2 separate regions of the Homo sapiens genome follow, and region 2 is linked to region 1. Evidence: promoter capture Hi-C in 16 types of primary human blood cells and fetal thymus (Javierre and others, 2016). All regions are on one chromosome and are shown on one strand. Each heading gives the region's core, a stretch centred on a gene start or on the middle of the fragment in contact. The rest is flanking DNA. Distances are from core to core; before and after follow the strand shown.

Region 1 (5,526 bases), core at 327-2,826:
GGTACTATAAGCTACACTCAAATATGTTTGAATGCCTTCTTACATTTTGGAACAGCCTGAGAGTCACTTATGGAACCTTCTTAGAACATTTTTATGAAAGCTGTTGGGTTTGTCAAGGTTTATTTTAACTCAAAATACAATAATTTTATGAGATCACTTGTTAATAGCTAGTTGGCATTAGCAGTTGCACAGATAAACTCCTATTTGATCACTCCTTGACTATGGTTAGGATATACGATTTTCAGGTGGCATTTCTTTAATTACCCTGTGGATTGCTTGTTGCAATTTGACCCAATGTACATGACTTTTTTTTCTATTGGAAAATTAACTCTAGTGTTCATATATAATGTTTTACTGTGTACTTTTAATATGTGTTTTAAAACAAGATAGTGTATATTTCTTCTTCCCCCCAATTTAACAGATTTGTATTTTATAAACGTTTATACATATTTCCTTGGGGAAATGACCTGCAGATAAGAAATAGATTTCTGTTTATGAGAAAACAATTATTTAAGCTTATGTGTCGTTTTCAGAAGCATTCTAAAATTGCCTTTTTAATTTGTGAGGAACTTTCTCAAACATGACCTTTCTAGTGCTGAATGAAAAGTCATTACCTGAAAATGACTCCCCAAAAAGCTGGAGATTATTTAACTTGTTGTGAGCCCCAGCATCATAAAAGTGAGATCTTTGTCTTGGAAAATAAACAGACTAAATCTTTTTTAAAAAGCTTTTATTTTAGGTTTAGGGGTACATGTGTAGGTTTGTCATGTAGGTAAACTGCCTGTTGCAAGGGCTTGGTGTACGGATTATTTAGTTACCCAGGTAATAAGCATAGTACTTGATACCTAGTTTTTTTCTGCTCCTTTTCCTCCTCACACCCTCAACCCTCAAGTGGGCCCTGGTGTCTCTTGTTCCTCTCTATGTGACCATGAGTTCTCATCATTTAGCTTCTACTTATGAGTGAGAACACGCAGTATTTGGTTTTCTGATAAACAAACTAAATCACCGTACAAAACGTATTGAGATGTCCCTATGAGTCCCTCCCGCCTGTAGGGTTCTGTATCATAGGATCCATGCACTCAACTTCATACATAAAGCAAGGACTTAAGGAGAGCTTCTCCAATACCACCTTTTGCACCATCGCTTTCTATTCAGAGATGACAGAGGCAGTATTTTAACAAGATTAAAGGAAAGTTTTAATAGCTTCATTTAAAAAGTTCTTGTTTTTCCACAGTATCACAACTGTTTTCATTTTTCATCCACCTGTTTGTTCTTTGTCCGTTTGACTAGTCGTTTTTATCATTGTAATCACGACATCCTGTGACTGTGCTCATGAGGTCTGTTTATTTCCACTTTACGTAAACTTTTCAAAATGACAGTTATTTCGTACTCGCTGTCGCCCGAACGCAGACGGGAGGACACTTCAGGAGCAATCGACCCGAAGGAAAAGCACGATCCAGGCCCCGCCTGCCTCGGCTCCACCTTCCCCGCGCCCGTCCCCCAGGGTCTCGGCCGCGGGACCCCGCCTTCCAGGCCCCGCCCCGCTTTTTCCCTGGCCCCGCCCCGGCCCGTCGCCATGTTGTTCCCTCCGCGCTGGACGGGAGCAGCTGGAGCGGGAGCCTGGCTGCGCTACCGCGGCTGCCTCCTGCTGTGCAGGTCCCCGACCCTCTCTCTGTCCTCATTGCGCCCAGACGGGCCGGCCCAGAGCTCCCGGGTCGTCTTTCGTGTGGCCGCGAGGTGAGCGGGACTCGGGACTCCTTCGGGACCGGGCGGAGTGCGCGGGTGTCGGGGTCTGAGGGGGCGGCTCGGGCCTCGGGCAGCTGGGGCGGGGTGCGGTGCGCGCGGGGCTAGCGCGGGTCACAAGGCCGCCCCGGGAGAGAGGACGGCTGGTTGTCTCCCTGCCTCCTCTCTGACGCAGGAGGAAAGACGGTCCCCACACCCTTGGGGAGAGGGACTCACAGAAACACACACAAACACTGGAGAAAGGGAGATACAAAAGCCCGGACACCCGTGCACATACACACGGAGAAATACACCCGGTCACCTGGGAACACACGTACACGCCAGCCTTTCCCCCAACCACTCCGGGACACACATCCACAGACCCCAAACCAAATCCTACACCCGAATGATTAATGTAGGGAAAACAAAGGCGCTCCCATGACTTGATTTTGGCGACCTCTGAAGTTCCACCTAGCAGAACGTGTTTGCTCGATGTCTTACGACCACTCGGGTGAGGAATTCGGAAAGTAAAGCCAATCTTAGAGGCTGCAGGCGTTTTGGGGGCATTATCTGATTCAGACGCTGGCTAACGTTTCACAATCGCGTTCCCTTTTTTCTTCCAACTTGGTAAGTAAAAAGGCAAAATGAGAAATTTAAGTGCTGAACTTAATAAATAGTTGGTGGACGTATTGCTTTTTTTTTTTTTTGGTAAGGGATGACACATCTCGTGACTACAGTTCTTTTGAGGAATAACTTTTCTGCTAGTTTCCAAATCGGCACGTGACCACAATCTTTTCATAGGATTTTAGCGTCCTGATAAAAATCAATGGGCAGAATTTGATTGCTTCTTTAAAAATGTGTTTGTCCTTCGGTCTCTGGCACCATTGTAATGGAAAATCCCTACATTGCCTGTACTCTCAGAAGCTGTCCAGTGTAGCAAAACTAGAGATAAAGAAACCTGGAACGATTCAGTTAGGAACTTTTAAGAAGCCAGCCTTTAGTTTTTCCTTTAGAAGATTATGAAGTTATCATGATTGCTTCTCTAGAACTTTAGTAGTTATTTGGATTCCTAAATCTAAGACAATGCTGTGGCAGTCTGGTGCTTTTAGTATTTTTGTGTCTGCTGTGGTAAATTCCTCGTTTATACTACAAAGTTTCTCTTCTGGAGACTTTTGGGATCTGGGCATATTTTTTCGTTTATTATTTGGAATGTTAGAGTAGATAGGCAAACACTAAGTAGAACATCATTGGCTTTGACTCCAAGCCGGGTTTTAGAGATAAGGGAAATAATACCTTAGTGCTATCACTTCTTTTCCAACCTCTCTCATCTCTTTTTGTTTCTATCTCAACCATTTCTTCTGTCTGGACTACAGTACTCTGGAGGCCTAAAGAGAAGATCCTTGAGTTCTCGAAATTATTTTTTTTTAGCCTCCCCTCATTTCTGACCATTTATTGAGCACTCACTCTGCGGCGAATATTCCGTACGTGTAAATCCTGTACGTACATCATTTTATTTAATTTCCATAGCATTTCTTCAGTAAGAGCTCCATGTTACAGTTGAGGAATTTGGGGGGGCATAGGAAGGTTCAGTCTGTTTTCCAAGATGACCCAGGTTGTGATGGGGTGGAGCGGGGATTCAAAGCAGGTCTGGGTAATTTTAGAGTAGTAGTTTTCAACTGGAAGAGAGGACAATTTTGTCCTCGTAGGAGACATTTGGCAATGCCTGGAGGCATCTTTGGTTCACACCTGGGGGCAAGGGAGGTGCTGCTGACATCTAGTGGGTAGAGGCCAGGGATGCTGCTAAACATTCTTTTTTATTTTTATTTTTGTTATTTAATTTTTAAATTTTGCTGCTAAACATTCTATAACCTACAGGACAGCCCCCCACAACAGAGTTGTCTAGCCCAAAATGTCACTAGTGCCACGGTTGAGAAACCCTCCTTTTCAGCAGTCCAAGTAACCCCAGAGCTTACATTTCAACTGCTTTTGTAGTTTTTCAAATGCAATGTCGTTTTCCTATTTGGGATACCTCATCATTTTAACAGTGAGCAGGGGAAAATTCTCTCTACTGAGAAGCATATTCACTTGAAAGATTAAAGAGTGAGTGGCTGGGCACGGTGGCTCACGCCTGTAATCCCAGCACTTTGGGAGGCCGAGGTGGGCGGATCACGAGGTCAGGAGTTTGAAACCAGCCTGGCCAACATGGTGAAACTCCGTTTCTACTAAAAATACAAAAATTAGCCAGGCGTGGTGGCGGATGCCCGTAATCCCAGCTACTCAGGAGGCTGAGGCAGGAGAATCGCTTGAACCTGGGAGGCAGAGGTTGCAGTGAGCCGAGATCACGCCATTGCGCTCCAGCCTGGGCAACAGAATGAGACTCCATCTCAAAAAAAAAAAAAAAAAAAAAAAAAAAAGACCAAATAATTTCTGGTAGCAGAATCTGTTTTTTGTTGTAAGGCAAAAATGACAAAAAGAACTTTAGAGCTATTCAGAGCCATTAAAGTGGACTTAGAAAGTTTAGTTTCTGCATTATTTCAGTTGTCTGAGCAGCCTGTGGGGCACTGATACAAAGGTGCTGATGAGAAGGGCGGTGGGGAGTCCCAACCTTCCTGAAGCTTACAGTCCAATCACAGTCATAAGATTAGGTTCTGACATCATCCTAGAACAGAATTTATTGCCTGGGCTACTCAAGGACAGGGGCCAGGTGTTCATTAAAAAAAAGCAAAACAGGAAAAAAAAGCAAAACAGGCTGAGTGTGGTGGCTCATGCCTGTAATCTCAGCGCTTTGGGAGACCCACACAGGAGGATCACTTGAGCCCAGAAGTTTGAGACCAGCCTGGGCAACATAGTGAGACCCCCGTCTCTACAAAAAATAAATTAAAAAAAAAATTAGCCTAGCTCAGTGTGGTGGTGCATGTCCCAGCTACTCTGGAGGCTGAGGCAGAAGGACGACTTGAGCCCTGGAGTTCAAGGCTGCAGTGAGTCATGATCACACCACTGCATTCCAGCCTGGGCGATAGAGTGAGACCTTGTCGCTAAAAAAATAACAATAATTAAAGAAAACAACTCCACACTCGGCACAGAAGTACCTGTGTCATGGTGTTTACTGTGGGCAGACTTAAATAAAATGGGGAAAACTTGATGTGTGTGTTATAGTTTTGTACGGTTAACCACGTGTGAATATTTACAAGAATCAAATTGAGAAGCCATTCTTGTTGAGCATAAAATTCATCCTTAAATTTCACCTCACCAGACAAATAGTTATGCCTGCATTTTATCACTGGAATCGAGAAAGAAATGATGAATTTTTTAATGGCTTTTCCATAACTTTCTGGTGTTTTCTGGTCTCTTTTTCATGCCTGTCTAAGATCAGGCCTTTCAAAATATGTACTGCTTCATTCTGGTGGCAGTATTAACTGTTAGGTGAACTTTGGGAGGGAGTGGTTGACTGGAGCAGTCAAAAAGGATCGCATCTCTTTTTAGGCATCACTGAGTGTTATTCACGCAATCAACATGGCATCTTTTTGTCGGTAGCTTTGGTTTTTGACTCATGCCAATGCACAGCACGTTCTTTGCTGATGAATAGATTTCTCTGCCTCTTATCAGGAGTTGTCTGCTGTGGGGTAGGGAGGATGTTGAGTTACACACCTCAAAATGATTGCTAGTGCATACACATGGAATCTAACAAAAGTGACGTGTTTTATTCTGGGAAAGGTCGAGATAAATTGGTGCTAGAGTTGTCTTGTTTGATCATTAATTGGCTTGCTCCTCCAGCCAACTTAGGTCACCACATTTCCTTCTGGG
Region 2 (5,689 bases), core at 2,749-5,248, 340 kb after region 1:
GAGGTCCTCTTCTAGAGATAGGTCCGATTAGCTTTTTTAAGCTGGTTATTTTCTTCACGCATGGAGAACTTAAGGAGCTAATAAGAATGCCTGGGTTTCTGAAAAGCCAACATCTAAATAATTATAGACATTACAGCAACACCTTCAGAGACTACTACCTCTCAAAGAAAAGAGAGCTGATGGTTGCTGCAGATTTAGATGCCCTTTGGTCTTTAATGGTCTTTAATTCGATCTTTCATTCCTCACCTCCCTGGGAATGTCTCCCACTCTTTTATGGCACAAGCCTTCAGGGACTGAACAGTAACTTTTCTCCAATGGGCTGGTGGAGCTGAAAGAAAAGAGATTGGCAATGTCAGGGAAGGCCGGGATCCGCAGCTCTACAAACCCGGCAGCCCTCTCCAGTGAGCACAATGGCATAATGGCCACCACCCAGCTGAGCCCAGGCGAGTACAGAGACCATTCATTGTCTGTCCTCAACCACCAAAGAAGGAAGGAAAAAAACAGGGTTGAGGTCATTCACTAAACACTGACGAGGCCTATAGGCAAGGCAGAGACTGAGTCTTGAATGATATATTTTTCCATATAGCCTCTCTTAAAAAACGGATTTACACTTCAGTACATCTGCTCATCCTGCAGGATCTATTTTTAATGCATAAATATACACAAAGAACAATAGATAAGAGCTTTGTAGTTTTCAATGGATAAAATGTGACTATTTCCATCAAGTTACCAAAAAATTTCACAAATAAGTGGCTTTGTTGACAGGTAGTGCCATCAAATATATTCTTTTAATTACATATTTATGTTCTTATAAATATAGAATATAGGACAAATCGTAGCAACCAAAAAAGTAAAATAAAAACACAAATTCCCCTAAAAACTAGAATGTATACTTGAACTAGATTTTCCTATCTTCCTTTTCTACTAGAATTCTAAAAATACATGAAAATTCACCTGCTTTGATCTTTGCACAGAAACACATTAAAAGCCAATCATTAAATAAGTTACTCTGGCTAAAGCCCTGAAAGTCAAACCTTCCCTACAAAGCTCCAGTGATTTGGTTCTCTGAACCAACCAGGTAATTTGGAGGATTTAGTTAGGTCTTCAGTACACACTGTTTCAAGGAGATCTGCTGGACACTGCAGCAAAATAAGTGAAGGTATGGTGAGAAATCTGAGTGAGATAGATTGAGTCATATGCGGTTCCAAGGAATCTCTCTGTACATGCAATAATAACCCTATCACAGAAGATGTCTTCCAATAATACACACAACAGTAAGAACTTCCTCACTAAGACAAAGAATATAATAGGGTTTTGTTGAGGGCTGGGCTTCCTGCCCCACCTACTTGGGCAGCCCTGCCCCCATCCCTGGCTGGTTGCTGAGGCTGGCAAGCTCATCTGGCTTGATGCCCTCATGGCCTCCCTCCTGTGTCTTTGCATGGTCCCTGCTTAGTGATTTGGACATCAAAGATGGCTCAAGTCCAAATGGCCTTCTTCCACCTGCAGACATCCAAGCTCCATCTTGGGCAGGACACAGGCCTACTCAAGTGCACATGCCACTGTGTTCAGAAAGCCTGCATCTCCCCGTCTATAATAGCTACAGTTAAAACTGATAGGCAAGGGAGCCAAAAAACTGAGTTTTATTTTCTTTTCATTCCCTCAATCCCCAACCCCAATTTACCCTCTTCTGGATGTTGTAATAAGTACTGTCACAAAGAAGGCATAGCATGGGGAAGGAGTAAGGCTGAAAGGATGCAGTTAACAATTCTTTTTTTCATACAAATGACATTCCACCCACAGAAGGGCATTGTTTAATTTGTCAGCAAGTGTGATGAATTTGTGAATGGGTTTATTTGCAAGTTCTCTGAATCCCCTTGTGACTAATATCAGAATCAAAAGTGAAATATGAGGCCAGGAACAAAGTTACCCTCTGACTCAGGAACACAACAAGCAATGGGATGACTGAGAATGACATAATGATAACATAGTTCAAAAGAGGAAACAGATAAGTTTGTTTCACAGCAAGCATGTCCTTCATAAGCAAAACCTAGTGTGACCATAAGGTAATAAGGGTTGAATAGGCAGGTTCTGCAAATTAAGAGCATAACAGCAAAAACCATGGCTAGTTTAAAGTAGTTAAGATCGCTAGTACATTTCAGGCGTCTTATTTCAAATTTACTTTTTTCTATAAACATATTCACGGTAATTCCATGTTAATCTCTCTTTTCTGAATTTATAGGCACTCACTATGCCTCATTTACTTGGGCACTTACTCAGTTACCTGTAGGCATGGATTCTACAATCTACTCCTTTTAAGTTTCCTATTTTCCTTCCAGCATAAAAATAATAGCTAATATTTCATGCTCTTAGATGCTGCTGAAATTGTTGAGCTTGTCTGTTGTTTCCTGATAACGTTCTCTCCTCCTGCATCTACTCCCCAAAATCTCTGAGGACCTAGTAACTCAAAAAACTGACTATAAAGCACCAAATCTTTTCAGGAAGCAAATATTTAAATACATTATGTTTTCAAAGATCTTTTCAATTCATCTGATATTTGATCAACTACATTCTTTTTTCACTTGTCCAGCTGTTCCGTGGCTGAATTTCCTCTTGTAGAGAAGTTGTTCAAAAAAAGTTCTGTACCTACTTTGCAAACTCTCCAATTTACACTCTAGCCTTAACTGTTCAAAACTTTCCCCCGTCATTCTCATCTCACCCTATCCTTTAAAAAAAAACCCAAAATGATTAATCACCATCTATAGAACAGTTTCAGAATGAACATTTCTCTCTGGAACTTTAGTTTGTATACTTCCCCAGCACAGCAATGAACACACAGAGGGGATTTATACACCTGTGAACTTGCTTTCAGTTATGCTTATTCCAAGTTACTAACCAGCAGTCTTTAAAAATATATGGTTTCTGTTCACATTGAAATTACAAAGAGACTGTTATTCCGATAAATTATGCTAGCAAAAATAGTATTTTTAAAGGGTAGCTCTCATCCTACAATTCATGGGGGCTGTGAGCATAAATAATCCTAGAAGTGTTGCGTTACTAATCTTTAGTCTAGATTTTTTAAGTAATATTGTTCTGATTTGAGATGAAGAACAGCTGAATACACAGCCTAGCCTGTCAAACGAGTTTAAAAACATCATTCCTGAAAAAAATAAAATTGTTCAGAACCATCTGATCTGTACTAAGGGAACATCAAGATTTCAGAGCTAAAATGCACTTCGTTGGCCACTGGTTCAATTACAGCTCATTACTGATAAGTGGGCAGAGACACAAGGCCCATAAACTGTAGGCGCCAGATGTCTCAAGATAACTCCCACCAAAAGCTGACCTCCTGCAGAGGTTAAAGTGCAAGAGAAAAGAAAGAAACCCGAATTTTTGAGCAGAGAGGGCAATATCCTAGACATCCTTCAAGTATGTGGCTGTCCTGGGCGATCTTCTATTCAGATACTGGACTGGATGGGCAAAATCCGAATTCACCTACAGACCTTAACACGGTGGTTCTCGGCACCCCAGAATCACCTGGGCAGCTTTAAAAACTACCGATGCCAGGGCCCCACTATTAGAGATTCTGATTTCATTGGTCCGGGATGGGGGCCCGGGGATCAGAATTCTTAAAGAGTCGTCCAGTGATTCGGAAGCACTGCAGAGCTGAGAGCCTCTGGGACTGGTCCCCTCTCACAATTAACCTGCAATGATTTAGGAATCTCATGGGCCTCCGGCCCCACCTTTTGTCGCGGGATTAAGATAATTATGAGAGCAACGTGACGTCCAAGACCTCGGCTCTCTGCGCATCAGAAGAAGCCAGGGCCCGGGGCGTCTAAGCTCCTCCCTCACTCCCCAAAGGAAACCCAGCCGTCCCCGAAGTCACCTCGTGGGCGCGCAGCTTGCGGATCCTGGGCGTTGGCCGCGCAGGGGCCTAGTTTTCCTTGGAGAGACAGAGGGGGAGTGGGGGACGCGAGGGAGGCGGCTGTTGCCGGGGCGACTGGAAGCGCGCTTCCGGTGCGGAACACGTGGCGTGGCGCGGCGCGCCGGAAGTCCCCCCCTGTGTCGCGGACGTCACGTTCGCACCGCAGGCGGTGCAGTGCTGGAGGCCGGAAGCTGCCTGCTAATCGGCTACCCCGAGTGGAGCGCCGGGGCGGCAGGCGTGGGATGGCTGCGGGTGGCGGGGCCGGCGGAGAGGGAGCTGCACCGGGCGGGGCACTGGGACTGTGGCGGGCACCCGCGCCGGGGGTCGGACGGTGCTTCTGCACCGGCGAGATAAGGGTCGCTTCTGCACCGCCCGGGTTTCCAGCCTTTAACTTTTTGTCCTTTCCTCAGCTTTCTTCGTTTTCCTTCCCTTGTCTTTACTTAGCCTTTTCTTTCTTCCTTTCTGTTTTCTTTCTTAACTAAAACAGTTTTAGTTTCTTAATTTGTCCCAGCGTAAAACACCCAGTCTTTGAAAATAGATTAACCCAGATCTCAGTTTGAGTGCGAGTCCAGTGCTAAGTTTGTAACTTCCCCAAGCCTCGTGTGTCTCATCTATAAGATATGCATAACCTAATGCAGAGTGCCTGATGCATTGCAGCAGACAAAACATTAGTACTAATATGTTTGTAATTATAACCATCACAGCAATACCTGCCCTGTTAACATTACAAGAGTCATTAACAAGAACCAAGCATAAACAATTAGAAGTCTTACGTGACATATCATTTCTGGGGCAATTACCATATTTAATACTTTCTGGGAATTTATTCCAAGGAAAAACAGGTACGAACCAGATAGATGTTTATTACAGAATTATTTTAAAAAGTGAAAATTGGAAAAGACCTAAATGCCCAACAAGGAAATGGCTAAGTCAATTGGGTGGTATTAATGACGTGACATTACTGTATTATTCCTGGACTACAGAAGAATTAAAATGGTATAGAAGAATATTAACTTTAACAAATATTTACTGGATGCCGGCTATGTGCCAAGTATTCTATGTTAGCGCTGTCCATTGTAACCACTACATGTGGCCCTGAGAACCTGAATTGTAGTAGTCTGAACTGAGATACACTGTAAGGGTAAATTACACTCTAGATTTTGAAGAAGAATGAGAAAAAGAATGTAAAATACCTCAATTTCTTTATAGTGATAACATCTTAGAGAAGGACTATTGAGGTTAAAGACTAAAATTTGATCTTTATCTTTTTACTTTATTAGTGTGGCTACTAGAACATTTAAAATTATATATGTGGCATGCATTGCATTTCTATTGTACCGTGGTATTCTATTTACCGGATACACAGTAGTAAACAATACAGTTTTGGGGCTCATAAAATTAAATCTTTTGTGTAGAACATAGACAATAAGCAGATAAATAGAATTGTATGTTGTGGTGAGTTATATGAAGACAGTATAGCAGGGTAAGGGCCAGAAAGTATGTGTATATAGAGGGGGATTATTTTAGAAAAGATTATTCCTCCACCTCAGAAAATGGATGTGGGAGGAAATGAGATATCTATGGATAGAAGCAGGAGATGGTAGGAGGGTGAAGTCTTATGGGAAAAGTCAGGTGTGGATTGAGACAGATAAGTCAGATGGGGCCTGGTGCAATCTCTACCTCAAGGAAGAAGCCAGCATCTAGAGAGGCAGGAAAGAAAGATGGAGAGGGGTAAGATAGGGAGAAAGAGCTTAGGGGGTTCCTGGG

What was found. The method cuts DNA at HindIII sites, captures the fragments that hold promoters and counts their contacts. A CHiCAGO score of 5 or more calls a contact.
Region 2: a contact is called between the fragment with the promoter of GEMIN8 here and the fragment with the promoter of RAB9A in region 1, in 1 of 17 cell types (total CD4 T cells). The highest score is 5.4, in total CD4 T cells.

What each region holds. Positions count from the first base shown.
Region 1 is chrX:13,687,552-13,693,077 of GRCh38, forward strand. It overlaps RAB9A (RAB9A, member RAS oncogene family), which reads left to right and starts at 1,577. Exons shown (of 3, transcript NM_004251.5): 1 at 1,577-1,737. RefSeq lists an enhancer at 1,277-1,326 and silencers at 1,477-1,716, 1,727-1,886, 4,511-4,707. The HindIII fragment of the contact is 3,610 bases long and covers 726-4,335 here.
Region 2 is chrX:14,025,894-14,031,582 of GRCh38, forward strand. It overlaps GEMIN8 (gem nuclear organelle associated protein 8), which reads right to left and starts at 3,999. Exons shown (of 5, transcript NM_001042479.2): 1 at 3,884-3,999; 2 at 247-328. RefSeq lists enhancers at 3,588-4,088, 4,089-4,589 and silencers at 3,966-4,165, 4,200-4,339. The HindIII fragment of the contact is 15,884 bases long and covers 1-5,689 here.